Linked DNA regions of Homo sapiens: regions 1 and 2 are each linked to region 3. Evidence: promoter capture Hi-C in 16 types of primary human blood cells and fetal thymus (Javierre and others, 2016). All regions are on one chromosome and are shown on one strand. Each heading gives the region's core, a stretch centred on a gene start or on the middle of the fragment in contact. The rest is flanking DNA. Distances are from core to core; before and after follow the strand shown.

Region 1 (2,700 bases), core at 43-2,542, 330 kb after region 3:
ATCAATAGGGAGCATGTTTAAGGAATGTTAGCCGGTAGTCTTTGCTAGGTGTGAGGGGTGAAATTTTTCTTTATCAAGGCTCAACTGTTTTCGAAGTCTTCAGGCTTGAAGTTCTGGAGAAAACAACTAGGCTCTCCGGGCGAGATCCCGAATACCAGTTTAAGGGATTTGAAATGCAAGGCCGTCTGGGACTCCACTGCCACGGATGGGCACCAGGCGGCGCCGGTCGGATCCGTCCCGGGACTAGCAGGGCTTTGGGCAGCAACCCGCAGGGAGCCCGACCGCCTCTGGCCAGGTCCGGGCAGCTGGTGGGGGAGGTTCCAGAGGTCCACGCCATTCGTGGACGCAGTCTCTAGTGTCCTCTCCGCGTCCCACTTCACTGCCCCATCCCCTTTCCTGCGAGAGCCTGGACTTGGAAGGCACCTGGGAGGGTGTAAGCGCCTTGGTGTGTGCCCATCTGGGTCCCCAGAAGAGCGGCGGGAACTGCGGCCGCCCGGACGGTGCGGCCAGACTCCAGTGTGGAAGGGGAGGCAGCTGTTCTCCCAGGCGGCCGTGGGGGGCAGCAGAGGGGACGGCGACAGGTGCGGGAGCCCCTCCCGGGGTAGAAGTGGAAAGGCGGGCTCCGGGGTCTGTTCCCAGGCTGGAAACCACCCCCGCCCCCCATCCAAATCCCCGGGAGAGGCCCGGCCGGCGCCGGGTCTGGAGGAGGAAGCGGCCAGAGACAGTGCAATTTCACGCGGTCTCTGTGGCTCGGGTTCCTGGGCTGGGTGGATGAATTATGGGGTTTCGAGTCTGGGAGAAACTGAGGTGGCCTGGACGTGAGGCAAAAAACACCCTCCCCCTCAAAAACACACAGAGAGAAATATTCACATTCTGAGAGAAAATCCACCAAGTGAACCAACCGGCTAGGGGAGTTGAGTGATTTGGTTAATGGGCGAGGCCAACTTTCAGGGGGCAGGGCTTTGGAGAGCTTTCCACTCCCTCATTCATTACCCTTCCCTGGATCTGGGGGCTTTCGGAATCTCGACCTCCCCTTGGCCTATCTCCTGCAGAAAAATTAGGGTGAGCCCCATCCTCGATCTGCTCCGCCAAGTTGCGGGACCGCGGGGCGTGGCACGCTCGGGGCAGGCGGTCCGAGGCTCCGCAATCCCTACTCCAGCCTCGCGCGGGAGGGGGCGCGGCCGTGACTCACCCCCTTCCCTCTGCGTTCCTCCCTCCCTCTCTCTCTCTCTCTCACACACACACACCCCTCCCCTGCCATCCCTCCCCGGACTCCGGCTCCGGCTCCGATTGCAATTTGCAACCTCCGCTGCCGTCGCCGCAGCAGCCACCAATTCGCCAGCGGTTCAGGTGGCTCTTGCCTCGATGTCCTAGCCTAGGGGCCCCCGGGCCGGACTTGGCTGGGCTCCCTTCACCCTCTGCGGAGTCATGAGGGCGAACGACGCTCTGCAGGTGCTGGGCTTGCTTTTCAGCCTGGCCCGGGGCTCCGAGGTGGGCAACTCTCAGGCAGGTAAGTGGCGCGAGAGCACCGGCGGGCTCGGCACCTGGGAGCCGGAACCCAGTGCGCGCAGCCTCGGAGGGTATGGGCACGGTCTCAGGCGGCGCGGGGTTGTGGGTGCTGCCCCCGGTTTGCCAGGACCACCTGGGAGAGGGGCGGTCAGGCTCGGGTTATCGGCGTGGTCCGGCCGAGGGCGGCATTCCGGGACCCTCACGCCACCCTTCTCCAGAGCGTCGCCGACCCTCTAATTGGTCTCCCCAGAAGAGGCTGAGGCCGAAACAGTAGTTCACACTTCTGAGGGGCCCTGCAGGGAGGGGAGCAGGGAACTTCATTCTGTAAACAGGAGGTGCTTGGAGGTGGGGGCCTTGGCGGGAAGGGTCTCGGTTTGCTCGCCAACCCCCTGCCCCCCACCCGCGCCGATTTCAGCTACCCCTAGTTTCGTTGTTTTGCCGACAGGGCGGAGCTACAGAAGGTTGGAGGGGGTTGTTGTTCTCTGGTGTTGGAAAAACAGGAGCGGCACCTCCTCTTCCGTGAGTGAGCCTGCCCTGGGGAGGTCTGAGATTAACCAGAGGGCCAAGTTCAGGTGACATCAGGCAGGAGGCCCAACAGAGGCTGGCGCCCCCTTTCCTCAGTATAGCAGAGCTTAAGCAACATCTCTTTGTCAAGACCCAGGTCAACACAACTCATATTTATTGAGCATCTACTATACACAAGGCCCTGGGCCAGGAGCTGTAAGGGCAAGGATGTCCAGCCTCTGGTCTTTTCTCTCCCCAACCTGAGGATCAAGAGGGCACCTCTGCTACTTTCTAAGCCTCCTGCCTTGGGGAGTCCTTCCTGGGCTCAGCTTGTGCCTCCCGCCCCCATTTTGCTTATTGTCTGACACTGTCTCTAGGACCCTAGACAGAGCCCCGGATTGCTCTTCTCCAGTCCTCCCCCGACTCCCATGCTATCTGAGCCCACCCCTTTGGGGTGTCTCTGGGACCGTGGACACCTGAGGACTGAAGTTCTGTGGATCTCCTCCCCTCCCCTCAGATCTCAGCTTGGGGTTTGGCACAGCCAGGGCCCCTTCCCCAGTGTGGGAGTGGAAGAAACCACCTGTGCTTCCCTCACAGTTGCTGGGCCTAAATTTAGATCCTGGGATTTTTAGATGTGAACACTCCCAGCTGGTGGAGGGGGGTGGTCTGGGGACTGGCGTGGGAGGG
Region 2 (2,700 bases), core at 153-2,652, 500 kb after region 3:
TTTGAAAGGGTAATAGAAGGTGGGGGTGCATACCTCGTTTCGGGAGGCAGCAGCACGATGAAGAGGGGTCAGCCACAGTGTGTCCTTAGCATTGACATTAGCACCTGTGGGGATATAATTTCCTATTTTGATGGAAGGTGGGGAGGAGGTATGAAGGAAGCCAGTAATCAGGCCAGGAAATCTGAATGGAGCTGGAGCCTCGCCTGGACCAAGCCGGGGAGAGCAATCCTTGAATATCAAAAAAGACTCCTCCCCTCCCTTCGCTCCCTATGTGCCACACCTTCCAGCTCCCCACTTTCACCTGACATCAGTAGCAACTGGAGGATGGGGACATCGCCTACGTAGGCAGCAGCATGCAATGGAGTTCGCCTCTCTTGGTCCTGGGAAGGCAAAAAAGAGCAGGGAGTATGGGCGCGGGGTAAGGGGGCTATCAAGGACCCCAGCCCAAGTCTCAGAGCTCCAGGCCCTTCCCCACAACCTCTTCCCATAGTTTCTGCAGCGTCCTAAGTCCCGGTATTGGGAGTCAAAGGCAAGCACCTAGGGAGGGTGGAGTCAGGGCCAATGGGCTGAGAAGCCGGCTCCTTTTTCCAGGAGGGGTGGGGGCGCTGCAGACTCCGGAGGTTGAGAAGAGAACAACGTTCCTGGGCATTCCCAGCCCAAGTGATCTGGGCTTCAAGCCTGACCTGCTCTCCATCCCCAAATGCAGAGTAGGCTTTCACTCCAGGATGGAAAGAACTGCGGCCTCATCTGAGCAGAGGAGACACGGAGCCGCCCCACCGGTGGGGAGGGGTCCAGAACACGGGAGCCAGGATTCCGGTCTCGCCATCCTCCCTGCTCCCAACTCACCAGCACATTGATGTTCTCCTTCTGCGAGAGTAGGGAACGCACTTCCTCCACATCTCGGCTAAAGATGGCCTGGACCAGGGGCGGCTGCAGAGAGAACCGGCATTCTGAGAGCGGGCTGGAGCCGGAGCGGAACCGGTGTGGGGGTGGGGGTGGGGGAGCACCTAGGTTTGAGTGGGGGGCGTCCGTGGAGGGGCTCCACTCTAGGGATTCTGGCTGGAGCGAGCTCCCGCGGTGCCTCCGCCGGTTGCCAGGTCCCCAAGGACACCGGCTCGGTTGAGGGGAGCGCGGCATGGGGCGGGGCGGGAGCTGCGGGAGCCCCGGGCTCAGGCCCAGCCTAGGCCGCACATCCCCGGGCTCGCGTGACGGCAGCGCCGAGCCCTGGAAGGAGGAAGCGGGAAAGGGCAGGAGGGCTGACCTGGTCCGTGATGCTGAGGATCCCCATGGCTCGGCCCGGGCTCCGTCCGCATCGAGCTCCCGGCGGCGGCGGCGGCGGCTCCACCGGGGACACGGAGCGGCCCAGGCGGCGGCTGCGGTGGCGGCTGCAGGGAGAGCGCGGCCCCGCCTACCGGGGGGCGGGCGAGTTGGAGGCCGCAGCGCTCCCTGGCGGCCGTCCTGGTCCCGGCGCTCCCCGCGCAAACGGACCCCGGCCGCAGCGCCCTCCGCCCCACCCTGGCGGCCCCAGCAGCCCCTGCACCCCCGAACTCGCGCGCCGGCTCCCCGGCTCACGCAGCTGGCCGCGCTGTGCTCTCCGCTCCAGTCTGGCGGCCCAAGGGGTTCCCCACAAGACCCTAGCGGAAACCTGGGCCTTAGTCCCGCGGTGCTTCCCAAACTGAGGACCGAACGGCTGGCCAGATCTTACCCAGCCCACAATGCTCCCGCCCGAGCTAACTCCTCCCGTCAGCGATTCCACACCCCGAAATCCCCCACAGACTAGGAGGAACTGGCGGGTGGAGAACTGGGAATTATGTATGGCAATAGCCCCAGAGGGAGGGAAAGCGTGTATCTCCACTGGCGGAGGCGTGAGTTCGGTAGAGAAGAAATAGCAAAAGTGCTCAAACTGCAGAGAAACCCCAAGGAGGATTCTACTGCAGAAAACACCCACAAAGAGGCCATGACAACTGGCAGCTGGAAAAGGCCGCCAAGACCAACAGAAGGGGCATTTTCCAACTCCTTACTGATTCCATTGCAAGGTTAAAGTGGAAAACACTCAACAATTTCTCCCCAGAACAGCCTGTGGCGCTTCCCCTCCTCCAATGGAGAGGCCAGAGAGCCGTCAATTAGAGAAGAAATGAATGGAGGTCATCTCAACCCAGAAACGGAAAAAGGAGGAAGACGAAAAGTGGAGATTGAAAAATTGATACAATTTATAAAAGGTGATCCAGGGTCCTGTTCAGAGTTTCACAACTCAATACACATTGAAGAGAACACGAAATGGACGAAGTGCAGCATGCTGGCGTCCTGTCAAGGCTTTATATATAAAAATCCTCCCTTGAGGGGAGAGGAAAAAAATTAAAAAATAAAAATACATTTTATTTTATTTTTTGAGATGGAGTTTCACTCTCGTCCCCCAGGCTGGAGTGCAGTGGCACGATCTCGGCTCACTGCAACCTCCGCCTCCCGGGTTCAGTGATTATCCTGTCTCAGACTACCAAGTAGCTGAGACTACAGGCGCCCGCCACCCTGCCCGGCTAATTTTTTATTTTAGTAGAGACGGGGGTTTCACCATGTTGGTCAGGCTGGTCTCGAACTCCTGACCTCAGGTGATCCACCTGCCACGGCATCCCAAAGAGCTGGGATTACCGGCGTGAGCCACCGCACCCGGCGAAAATACATTTCAAAAAAGCCTTCCCGGCC
Region 3 (2,700 bases), core at 184-2,683:
ATGTGACAGAGGGCAAAGACGGCCATAGGGTGCTCTGAGTTTTGGGATGGTCACATGACACAATCCAGCACTTGAACCTGAAAAAAAAAATAAAAGCGGTCAAAGAGTTTAGAATTCAGTGCTGAGCTCTTCTCCCTAATCAAGTGCCACATTTACACCTTGGAGAACCGGAGGTGAAGAGGATCTGAGACAGGAAACCTCGTGTTCAATGACTAAGAAGATGGGGTCCTGGAGCAAGACAGAAAACACTAAGGGCATGGTGGTATAAGGTTTGGGACATGCAGGCCAAGGAAGGATGGAAAGAGGACAGGAAACTGGGGGTACCTAGAACAACCCCTCTCTGAAAAGCTTGAGCCAAAACAGTCCCAAAGACAACAAGACCCCTCTCCCAGCCTCCACAGAATGGAAGATCTAAAGGTTCTCTTGAGATGATCCAGCTAGTATGGAAGATCTAAAGGTTCTCTTGAGATGATCCAGCTAGTGTCCTATTCTCCTGCAGTCCCTGTTCCTAGGTTTCCTCAACGAAGTTTGACAAAAATCTAAACCAACATAGCCAACGAACTTGCCTTGTTACACAAGAGTGGCTAAAATAGCATCTCAAATATTCTTTCAGTTCACTGTAAAAATTTTTCCCATGTACCTAGAGCACAATTCCCCAGGAATATGAGTTGGGAATGGCAAAAGAATATTGCCTGACTCACATTTTTCAAAAATAAGGAAAGCTGGCTGGGCGCAGTGGCTTACATCTGTAATCCCAGCACTTTGGGGGGCCGAGGCGGGCGGATCATGCAAGGTCCGGAGTTCGAGACCATGCTGGCCAACATTGTGAAACCTCATCTCTACTAAAATACCCAAAATTAGCCGGGCGTGGTGGCGTGCGCCTGTAATCCCAGCTACATGGAAGGCTGAGGCAGAAGAATCGCTTGAACCCAGGTGGCGGAGGTTGCAGTGAGCTGAGATCGCACCACTGCACTCTAGCATGGTGACAGAGTGAGACTCCCATCTCCAAAAAAAAAAAAAAAAAAAAAAAAAGGAAAGCAGGACCCAGTGGTGTGCTCCTGTAGTTCCAGCTATTCAGGAGGCTGTGGCAGGAGGACCACTTGAGGCCAGAGGGTCAAGGCTGCAGTGTGCTATAATTGGGCCTGTAAATAGCCACTGTACTCCAAGCTGAGCAACACAGTAAGACACTGTCTCTAAAAATAATTAAAGTAAAATAAAAATAAGGAAAGCTCCTGTGACATCAACCTGATCCAGAATTGGGGACAGCGCTACTGCGGGTTCAATGTACTGCCATGTTTTCCCTGTCTTATCAGTTCTATCAGCACACTGACCCCACTCGAGACCAACTACAAGACTAAGGCTGGAAGTGGTTGAGTAGCAGAAGTGTTATGTATTCTATCTTCCCAAGGGAACCATATCCACATCTACCCCTAACTTTGGCCTGAGCTGAAAATGGGTTTTCTCTCCCTGTGGCTCATTTGTTTCCTATATTGAGAGAACACCCAAAAAAAGACTACTCAAGATGACTTTTTACAAGTCTTTTCTTTATCCTAAAACATCCTCCAACCGAAGGCATGGGAAGCTATCCTATACTCTGACCTTGCCTATATTTTAAATGGCAGGGGCCCCAAGCTAAGAATCAGCAGGCAGTGGCATCTACAGCTTCTGGTCTGTAGTGGCGTAGAAGCAGGAAAATCAATGCTCCAAAGCAACAATGTCCAGCTTTCCTGCCAGTGAGCTGGGCTTGAGGGAGTGAATGGGACTCTTTCTGCCTTTTCTTTTTCTCAAAATACGACTGCATTAACTGGGTGTATGCACACACAAACATGTTCAAACTAGGGCACTCATACCTAGCTAGAACCTACTCAGGGAAAGAAATATGTATTTCCACAGTACCCTGATCACCCAGTAAAAGCTAATATTTATTGAATAATTACTATGCAAATTATGGTAAGCAAATTGTAGTGTGAATACATGATATGAGAATATCACTTAATTCACACAGCAACCTTCACAATGGGGTTCCTTTTGGTACAGTCTGAAAAGAGAATGATTATCTGCGCAGGGTCTCAGAGCTAGTGTGGTAGAATAAGAAATTAAACCTAAGTAGTTGCTAAACAATATTACATTCTAATCTATCCTATTGAAAGTGATCCGGGAGGTAGAAACCTAAATACAGGAATAACATAAGGGAAAGAGATAACAAGAAAGTTAGGGACACCTTGGACTCAAAGAATCTGGAAAGATGTGAAACCTGTAATTTTAAATCCCTTTGGAAGGGAAAAACAAGAAAAGTCTAGATATGGCAAGAGAAGGGGAGGTTAAATTTTGGGGGGATTCCAATAATCAGAAATAAGTGGCATTGCCAGAGGCCCTCATATAAGAGAACAGCAAAAAAGTTATCCTCCCTTAAGTTCCTCCCTCACTCCTCATATCAGACACAGCAAGAGAACTCAGCTCAACACCAAGAAGTCCTGCCCTTATTCACACCTTCCTTCCTATAGCCCTCATCCTCACAGAAGCTTCTAGCCTCTATCTTCAGCAGTTCTTAAGAGGTGGGGTGGGGGGCTGGGCAGTTTAGAGTGAGAGTGGAAAAAAAGAATAATCCTAGAGAACCATAAAAAAGTACAGATTTACAGCTGAGGAAGCTAGTTCTCCCCACAGCTTTTATAGACTCCCTCATTAAGAGCTTCCAGGTAT

Evidence for each region. The method cuts DNA at HindIII sites, captures the fragments that hold promoters and counts their contacts. A CHiCAGO score of 5 or more calls a contact.
Region 1: a contact is called between the fragment with the promoter of ERBB3 here and a fragment that was not itself captured in region 3, in 1 of 17 cell types (total CD8 T cells). The highest score is 5.9, in total CD8 T cells.
Region 2: the fragment with the promoter of ANKRD52 here is called in contact with a fragment that was not itself captured in region 3 in 1 of 17 cell types (activated CD4 T cells); the score reaches 5.5 in activated CD4 T cells.

The regions. Positions count from the first base shown.
Region 1 is chr12:56,078,873-56,081,572 of GRCh38, forward strand. It overlaps ERBB3 (erb-b2 receptor tyrosine kinase 3), which reads left to right and starts at 1,293. Exons shown (of 28, transcript NM_001982.4): 1 at 1,293-1,510. The coding sequence starts at 1,429. RefSeq lists an enhancer at 950-1,940. The HindIII fragment of the contact is 9,077 bases long and covers 1-2,700 here.
Region 2 is chr12:56,256,982-56,259,681 of GRCh38, forward strand. ANKRD52 (ankyrin repeat domain 52) reads right to left here and starts at 1,403. Exons shown (of 28, transcript NM_173595.4): 1 at 1,262-1,403; 2 at 847-930; 3 at 302-380; 4 at 34-104. The coding sequence starts at 1,288. RefSeq lists enhancers at 1-405, 712-761, 842-891 and silencers at 952-1,021, 1,042-1,591, 1,602-1,661. The HindIII fragment of the contact is 14,479 bases long and covers 1-2,700 here.
Region 3 is chr12:55,752,764-55,755,463 of GRCh38, forward strand. It overlaps GDF11 (growth differentiation factor 11), which reads left to right. Exons shown (of 3, transcript NM_005811.5): 3 at 1-2,700. It also overlaps a transcript of SARNP not described here. Among named protein-coding and RNA genes, the nearest start is that of GDF11, 11 kb to the left of the region's middle. The HindIII fragment of the contact is 2,174 bases long and covers 347-2,520 here.